2 separate regions of the Homo sapiens genome follow, and region 2 is linked to region 1. The links are contacts of gene promoters, found by promoter capture Hi-C in human tissues and cell types (Jung and others, 2019). All regions are on one chromosome and are shown on one strand. Each heading gives the region's core, a stretch centred on a gene start or on the middle of the fragment in contact. The rest is flanking DNA. Distances are from core to core; before and after follow the strand shown.

The links. Contacts are between HindIII fragments. The study calls those that stand out against the background at their distance.
Region 2: the fragment with the promoter of NOVA2 here is called in contact with the fragment with the promoter of IGFL1 in region 1 in 4 of the 25 tissues and cell types used here (IMR-90 fibroblasts, mesenchymal stem cells, spleen and 1 more).

What each region holds. Positions count from the first base shown.
Region 1 is chr19:46,227,545-46,232,002 of GRCh38, reverse strand. It overlaps IGFL1 (IGF like family member 1), which reads right to left and starts at 2,261. Exons shown (of 4, transcript NM_198541.2): 1 at 2,204-2,261; 2 at 1,842-1,895; 3 at 1,486-1,729; 4 at 760-1,182. The coding sequence starts at 2,228. The coding sequence ends at 1,173. RefSeq lists an enhancer at 1,714-2,913. The HindIII fragment of the contact is 10,872 bases long and covers 1-4,458 here.
Region 2 is chr19:45,971,224-45,975,681 of GRCh38, reverse strand. NOVA2 (NOVA alternative splicing regulator 2) reads left to right here and starts at 1,817. Exons shown (of 4, transcript NM_002516.4): 1 at 1,817-2,415. The coding sequence starts at 2,331. RefSeq lists a silencer at 1,492-1,651. The HindIII fragment of the contact is 35,305 bases long and covers 1-4,458 here.

The sequences.
Region 1 (4,458 bases), core at 1,012-3,511:
ATGAGAAAACAAGCCCATTAAAACCCCAGCTGGGTTTTCTCAGACCCTAAAATCTGATCAAATAATAATAGCATTCTTCCACATATTCCTCATACTGGGGTCCATTTAAGATTAAGAAACTTTCCAAGACTCTGGAGAAAGCTTTCCAGACCCTGGACACTAGTTAAAGATTAGATATTGATAAGAATGAAACACGCTGTCTTGCAGGTGCACTCCGCACATAGGCGTGGAGCTTAGAATGCATATAAGCACTAGAAAAAGAAGTTTGTAGCTTTGAGTTGGTCTGGTAAGCTACTCTGACCTTCTCCCCATAGCCAGTTGGAGAAAGAACCTCCGTTCTTTCCCAGTCTGTCTGCATCTCCTTAACGTACATCAAGAACAAACAGCCGGGTCCTGTTCTGTCCCAGAACTGGTGGGAGAGGGAGTGCCTCTCCGAAGCCCTCTCGCGATCCCCACCTCCTCCCCACCCCACCTGGGCTGCTCCCGATGTTGTGACTGGGTTCAGGGAGCCATGGGGTGGTGGAGGCTGGTGTAGGAGGGTGGCCCCTGTCCCAGGTGCGGCCAGGGTCCTAGTCACCGAGCACAAATAACAAAATAATAAATTTAAAAATAAATGGAAAAAGAGAAAATAAGTGTGTGCACGAACAGAACAAATGGAAAGGCCCAGATGCCTCAGGGTGACAGAGAGAAGGGGCCCCACGTCACCCTCTGTGACCCCTTTCAACAGTCCAAGCTCTCTAATTCATGAATTCTACAGCATTCATTTATAAAGTACATAAATTTATTATGATCCTGTGCTTTGCTCCTGGATAGAAGAGAACTTGAGATGATGGAAAATCTCACAGAAGGGTGAAGGGTTCCCCAGCCAGCCTTGGGGTGGTGCCGGGTTGATGTTGGCCATAGGGGTCATCAGGAGGGTTCAGAGTCCCTGGGCCCCCATCAGCACACGCATCTCATGCTGTCCAGAATTCTAGAAGGGGACCTGTGGGCCTCCTCAGGGCAGCTGCAGGGTGGGCCTCAGACAGGTCACAGAATGAAGTGGGCAGTTGAGTGTGTGTTTCTCTGGCCCCCAAACAGCCACTCAGCATCCCAGATCTCAGGTAACACCAGCCTCTTTCTCCAGGCCCACCCAGGAAGGAGAATCCAGGAGTCATCGTTCCCCTGATGTTCCATTAGCTGACACTGGAGATAGTGACAGAGAGAGACACTGAGCGGGACAGAGATGGCCAGAGATGGGGGCGAGACTGAACATGGGCAGAAATGAGGACAGGAGAGCCAGGAGGAGAGGACAGCGGGGTAGAGAGAGTGAGATTCTGAGAGGGAAATAAAAATGGATGGAGACACAGGTGTAGGGAAAGGGAGAGGTGGATTGAATAGAAGCAGGGGGCAGAGACAGGGAGACAAGGAGAATGGGGGCTCCACCCAGGGCAGAACAGGCATGCAGCTACCCTGCACCCACAATCCCACGGAGGGGACAGGACTCACCTGCGACAAAGCCTGTCATCCGAGGTCCGGGCTGAGTCGCAGTTCTGGTTTATCAGCTTCACCATGAAGGTCCAGGGGCAGCACTGCTCAAAGCAGACTCTGAAGGTGCAGTTTCCACACGTCTGGGTCCTGGCCAAGGGCACGACGGCATCATCATAGCAACAGTGCTGCAGGGGGTCGTAGAACTTGTCCCCACATCTCTTGTGTGGCTGGCACAGCATCAGGTAAGGAGTCATGGGGGCCACTGGAGGAGACAGAGCTGGTGAGATCCAGGAGGTAGTGGCAGGTGGGTCCCAGCCTGGGGTCCCCTGGAAGGTGTACCCCTCCTCCAGCTTCCCAAACACTCCTGGGCTCACCTGGGGCTCCGTGTGAGCAGAGGAGCCTGGAGATGCAGAAAATGGCAAAGACAGCTGTGGGAAAGGGAAAGGGAAGATGGGGTGAGTGGACAGCCACAGATATGACTGGCACTGACATTTAGAAGAAGACTGGGTGGAACCAGGGCTCGGTATGGCTTTGAGCAGCTCAGGGACTGAAACAGGGCTGTGGATGGGGCTGATCTGGGCACTATGGATGGGGAATTGCTGTGAGCAATTCACGCCTGGAGATTTGGCTGGGCATGGGAACAGGGATGAGGTGTAGTTTGGGGTAGGGAGAGAGCCCTGGTGGTGGCTGAGATTGGAGATGGGCTCAGGTGGGAATGGGGTCCTGTCCTCCTTACCTACGATGCAGCCTCGGGGAGCCATGGCTCTGGGTGGTTGCAGTGGAGTGAGGAGGGGATCAGCAGATCTCAGCCACTCCTTTTATCCCATATTTCTAGTGGAGCTGGTGATGTCATGGCATTTCCTGCCCTCCTGCAAGTCCTGCAGAGACAGGCTGGGTCCTTGGGCAGGAGAGGTGCCAGGCAGGGTACGTGTCATTGTAGCTTTGATCTCACCTTTGTAATCAGGAGAGAAGCGGTACACCCTCCACCTTCTCTGTGCTATGTGCCCCAATCGTCCCCCACACTGAGTCCTCTGGAAAATAGGAAGGTTCAGGATGCTCCTGGCATTAACACTCTCCGACACTCACATGTCCACACAGCGATTCCACAGGATCCTACTGAGCTATGACTTTCCTCAGTTTCCTTGGGACATTGCTAACCCATGACATCATTTCAAAGGGTCCCATTAGGTCCCAACCTCACAACCGAAACACATGGTCAAGAATCCAGTAACTTCTCAGTCACCTGCAGCTCATGGCATTCAGGTGGGAGAGACTGTGTGACTCAGGCACCTGACTTTCACAGGTTTGGAAGGTGGGAGTGGAGCTGGCGGGACCCCTGGGACTCAACACTCCTCTGGGGGCTCTTCATCTCCTTCTCTGTCTCATTAATGGTCATTTACCCAGGACAGGTCCACTTGGGAGCCTACATGTCCCAGGCTTCGTGTCAGACACCAGTGATGCAGTGCTGAGTAGAAAACGCAAAGTCAGTGTCTTCGTGACGTTCATGACAGTGAGAGGAGAGAGAGAGAGAGAGAAGGTAGGAGAATAAAACTCCTGATTTTGGTTATTGTCGTTCTTGTGTTTGGTGTCATTATCACTGTGAAGTTCTGGTGGAGAAATTCCACATCCCCCCCTGAGATTCTCAAAGGTGTTTTTCCTTAATGTGCTTTTTCAGAGGGTTGGGTTGTGATTTTCCCTGAGAAGAGCCATCTTGGGGTCAGGATGTGAGGACAGAGGGGAAGGAGCTGTTTTGGGTCAGTTCTGTGCCCCCCTACCCCTGCCCAGCTTCTGCAGGAATTCCTCCGCTCAAGCTCACAGGCCACACATGGCATGGACAAGCCGTTCTCCTCCGGGCCAGGCAAGGTGACCTGTCACCCTCTAGGCACCATGGCTGGCTCCTAGCAGGGCATGGATGTGGTTAGATTTGTGTGTGTGGAAGATCCTGCATCTGTGTTCCTGGGGAGCACGGATAGGGGCTTCTCTCTGGAGGCAGGAGACACAGGAAGAGGCTGCAGAGAAATGACTTCAATAAATACCAGAGTGCTCAGCACCCACCTTCTCCCTCGACAGAGCAGACCCTGCTTCCAGCACCATCTCCCTGTCTGCTCCCTTGGCCTCTGTTCCTTGCTGCTGTGGGGTACAGCAGTGTTTTCTAGGACACAGATTAGGATGTGCTAGTAGCATGGAAAATCAATTTACTTGGGCATAAACAATGTTATTTTTAAGTGAAGAAATGGGTTAGAAAATGGGACAGTGTGCATTCAACAGAATGCTGTGCTCAACTGTTTATGACACTTTAAAAAAAATTATTTATTTTTTTGAGATGAAGCCTTGTTCAGTTGCCCAGGCTGGAGTGCAGTTGCACGATCTTGGCTCACTGCAACCTCTGCCTGCCAGGTTCAAGTGATTCTCCTGCCTCAGTCTCTGAGTAGCTGGGATTACAGATGCCCGCCAACACACCCGGCTAATTTGTGTATTCTCCATAGAGATGGGGTTTTACCGTATTTGCCAGGCTGGTCTTGAACTTCTGACCGCAAGTGATCTGCTCACCTCAGCCTCCCAAAGTGCTGTGATTACAGGTGTGAGCCACTGCGCCCAGCCTGTTTAGGACCCTCTTATTGGGACTGTGTATATTCCAAGTAATGATAGAATATTATTATATTGTTCTATCGTATGATATTATTATATGATAGCATAGCACATATCTAGAACTAGATATCTAGTTTCTGGAGGGAGTCACAGCCAAATGGTGAGGACACTTGGGAGCACAGAAGCCTCCAGGATCATCTCCTTCTTCTCTAAGAGCCACTGACATGTCTCCCCTTTGATGTCTTCCATAAAGGGGTAGAGTTCTCAGGTCCTTGGTTCCAGGCATTTTCTGGGAGGCTGCAGTGGAGCCCTGCACTGGTCTTACTGTCTCTACCAAGAAGAGGCAAGGCTGCCTGCATATGAGCCAGAGTGAGAGAGTGGAGCACCTTCCCCAGGGCAGGG
Region 2 (4,458 bases), core at 568-3,067, 260 kb after region 1:
TGTGTGGTGTGAGGCTATTTGACTCAAAGGGTCTAAGGTGTGGTACTCAGCCTGACCCCCGTATCTCCCTATATCCGTCTTGCCTCTTCCCCATCTCCATGGCAACCAGCTCCTCAGCTCCCTCCAGGAAGATGGAGGGGGAGGATCCAGACTGCAGTGGACCACAGCCCCCTCCCATCCCCCTTGGCTCTGGGGACAATGGGGGGGAGGGGACAGATGGGTAGCCACCCCATCCACCCCAGGCCATCTGCTACCCTCCCCCATCCTGGGGACCTGAGAGCATGGCAAGGGAGGAGCAGGGGGGGGTTGGAGCCGATCCCCCTGCCGCAGATCACGCAGTGGCCACAATTACCTGCATCCAGACCCCTTCTGAGCCTAATCTTGCCTCTGACCAACCCAGGAAGGAAAGATTCCTTGGAGGTTAAGAACCCAGGGAGAAGGAAATTCTTGCATCAAGGAACACAGAATAATAGCAATGATCCATTCCAAAGAAAGGCACCCTAGTTCCAATGACTTTGGGCTCTGAAATTGGACTTGTCCTGCGTTCTCATCCCAGTTTCTCTCTCTCAAGCTGTGTGCCCTTGAAGAAGCCACCCTCAATGTTCCCAGGCCTCCACTTTGTCATCTGAAAACAAATTTTTCTTAATGACATGAGTAGTAATACTGTACAAGGGCCAAGGCTGTTTTGTTCTCTATTGTATCGCAGCATCAGGGACAGTGCCTGGCACTTAGTAGGTAGGCCCTGAGTGCTGTTGTTTGAATGGAGAGCCAGTTGTGCCCCAGGGCAGGTGCTGCAGGCTGCAACTCCAGCTCAGTGAATTCAATCCTCTGAGCCCTTTCAGCATCACGGTGTTGATTCTTCAAAGGATGGATGAAAGATTTGAAGGGGAATTTCCCAGCTGAAAGGATTGAAAAAGAGTGAAGTGAAATTTCTTTCTCTTTCTTTCTTTCTTTTTTTTTTTTTTTTTTGAGACAAGGTTTTGCTCTGTCTCCCAGGCTCGAATCTAGTTGCTTGATCATGGCTGACTGCAGCCTCAAACTCCTGTGCTCAAGAGATCCTCCCACCTCAGACTCCAGAGTACCTGGGGCTACAAGCATGTGCTACCACGCCTGGCTAATTAAAAAAAAAATTTTTTTTTTGTAGAGATGGGGTCTCACAATATTGTTGCCCAGCTCGTCTCAAACTCCTGGGCTCAAGTGATTCTTCCGCCTCGGCCTCCCAAAGTGCTGGGATGACAGGCATGAACCACCGCGCCTAGTCGAAATTTCTTGTCTTGACCAAGTGAAGTCAAAGTAAGCTCCTAAGGCTGTTTCCTCATCTGTAAAATAGGGATAATAAGCGTAACTCACAGAGCTGGTCGCTCTGGGGAGTAAATGCGATAACGTCTGTGACGTGCTTGCTTGGAACCGGACCTGGCACACAGTAAGTGCTCAATAAACGTTCATTCAAGGTGAGGAGTGGGGACGGCTTGGAGGAGCCCGGGGTCCTCCCAGCAGCCTGGGGGAGTCGGGTCCAGCTCTCTGCCGCCGGGAGGGGCGTGGCCAACCCAGAGGGACGTGGTCCAGGCTTCAAGGCTGGACCAATGGGGGCGCCGAAGGGCGTGGCCCTACCCGGCATGGGCGTGACCTCGTTGGGTGGGAGGGGCCAGGCGCTGTGGGAGCCTCCGGGAAGAAGATGCTCGGGCCAGCAGCCACCGCCAGCCCCGTCGCCGCCGCCGCCCGCGCCCGCCGCCCCCCGGGCCCCCACTAGCGGCCGCCTCCGCCTCCCACTCCGGCCACGCTCCTCCGGCCCCCCACCCCGAGCAGGGTCTGGGGGGCTCGGCCCTCTTGCCCCAGGGAGCCAAGAAGAAGCGGGGAGTCCCGTCCCCCCAGTGGCGCGTCCAGTCCCCAGCCTCTGTGGTCCCAGGAGAGACCCCACCTCTCAGTTCTTTCCCGGCCCTATCGGAGACCCCCCTCGGCCCTGCCATCCTGCTCACGGCCGCTCTCCAGGCTCTGTCAGCCCCCCGAGAACCGGCTCCCCCCTACCCCCGCCTTCCCTCTCCGGGGCTCCCCCTCCCCCATCCCTCCACCGCCCCCTCCCCCTCCCACCTCCCCTCCCCTCCCCCTCCCCCGCCCCCCGCCCCCCGCCCCCCCCCACCATGAGGATGATGGCCGCCGGCGCGGTGCACGGCCTCTTCACGGCCTCCGCGGCCCCGCAGCCGCCGCCGCCCCCGCCGCCGCCGCCGCCGCAACCCCAGCCTCCCCAGCAGCCGTCGCCGCCGCCACAGCAGCCGCCGCCGCCGCCGCCGCAGCCGCCGCAGCAGCAGCAGCCGCCGCCCCAGGCCCCCCCCATGGAGCCCGAGGCCCCGGATTCCCGCAAGAGGCCCCTCGAAACGCCCCCCGAGGTGGTCTGCACCAAGCGCAGCAACACGGGAGGTGAGAAAGGGCTGCGGCTCGGGGCGGGGGAGCGGGCAGGGGGCCTCGCCTTTCTCCATCCTTTCCCCCCCTCCCGTGGCAGGTGCAAGGGCTCTGGGGAGGGGAGAGACACCCCTCCCCGAGGCGGGGGACAGAGCGGGGAGTTGAGGAGGGGGCTGGACCCCCTCCTCCTCTCGCTGAGGCCCGGGGCTGGGAGCTTTGTCTGCGAGGAGAGGGGTGGGGGGGAGGGGGTGATAAGTGTCCTTGGGGGGCGCAGAAGATGGGGGGCGTGGGAGCCTCAGGGCAGGTGTCTGTGTGTCCTTGAGGGGTGTGTGATGTGACCCTTTCGGAGCAGGGGTGTTCCCCGAGCTCGCGTGTCCTGGCTGGGGGAGGGGAAGGAGTAGAGGCCTGTGGACCGGGAGCTTCCCAGCCTCCCTCCCTGGGGATGTCCTGAACAAGGGTTGTCCCAGATGGAGGCTTGTGTGGCCCTGGCCGGATCGTGCGTGGGGACAGGCTGGGTAGGTGTGTGGGGTGAAATGGAGGAAATGGTGGGTGTGTAAAGCTAGGTGGGAGAATGTGAGGCTAGGACAGGTGTGTATGTGTGTGCGTGTGTGTGTATGTGTGCCCTCTACAGCCTGGATGTGTGACATTAGGGATCAGGAATATGACAGCATAGGGGGGTGTATGAGAAAGACAGGGGACAGGGGCTGGGCTCCATGTTTGAGACCCTCCAGCGGGTACGTGTGACAAGGAAAGGTGTGTGCTTGTCACCCCCAAGGGGGCTGTGGCAGAGTGTGACACATGAGAGGGTGTGTGTGACATGCAAGGAGGTGTGTGGGGGACACCGAATGGGCTGGCTCTGGGTGTCAGCCAGAAGAGGCCGTGTAGATCAGAGGAAAGGGGTCCAGTGTGTGTGACACAGGCGTGGCTGGTGAGGGGATGTGACAAGAAAAGGGTGTGGGTGTGACTCCAGAGAGGCTGTGGCTGGGTGTGACACATGGAGGTGTGCAACAGTGACATCAGAGGGGGTGTGTGCAACAGGGAAGGTGGGTGTATGACGAGGGAGAGGCTGGGGCTTGTGGGTGAAACGCACGAGGGTGTGTAAAAAGGAGAAGGAAGGATGGGTCCCCATGTGACAGGGCACGTGTGCATATGACACCCAGCTGTGTGTATGGGTGTAACAAGGAGAGGTGTGTGTGTGAAATGGCTGAGTGTGTGACACCAGAGATATGGGGATGATTCTGCATGTGTTTGACAAGGGAGGCTGTGTGTGTGTCCGTGTGTATTGGAGATTGCCGAATGTTTGACACCACGGAAGGCAGTGTGAGGGAAGAGAGGGGCTCTCCCTGGGTGTGTGACCCAAGGAGGTGTGTGTACCAGAGAAGAAAAGCCGAGCTGGGAACTCTAGGTGCATGCCCTGCCGTGGGGGGCTCAGGGAAGAGGTGGGGTTTTTTGGGGTCCTCAGAGCCCTGTCCTCTAGCTCCCTGGTAGGAGGGAGACCCCGCAGCGGACAAGCCCCTCCCCGCGGTCACCTTGCCAAAATCTCCACTTCCTCTGGCCTTTTCCTCCGGATGGGAGAGGGATGGCTTCAGGCAGAGTGCACCCTTTCCTCTCCGCCAGGCCTGGCAGTGGGTGGGGTGGGGGCCTCCTACCTCCTCCCTACAGATGAATACAAGCCGACTTTCTTCCTCCCATCCTAGCCCTCCCCCACCTCCATCCAGGTGGGACAGGAATCAGGGACCCCCTGGATGCCTGTGAGGGTGTCCAGCAGAAATTGGAGGAAAGGGAAGTTGGGGGAGGGGATGGGAGGGAGTTTCCTGTCCTTCTTCCTGCTCCCCCACCCCCAGCACACACATGAATATGTCCCCGACTTCCTTCCCTCCTTCCTGCCCCACTGCTGTTCCCAGTCCTGGAGAGGTCAGGGACCCAGGAGGTCCCTGAGCCCAGCCAGACTGTCTAGCCCTCCACCACCGTCCTCCAGAGGGTAGGGGGTTCCCACCTTTCTCTACAGGGACTGAGATGCTTAGAATCTGATCACTTCTCAGCACAACTTAACACTGATGC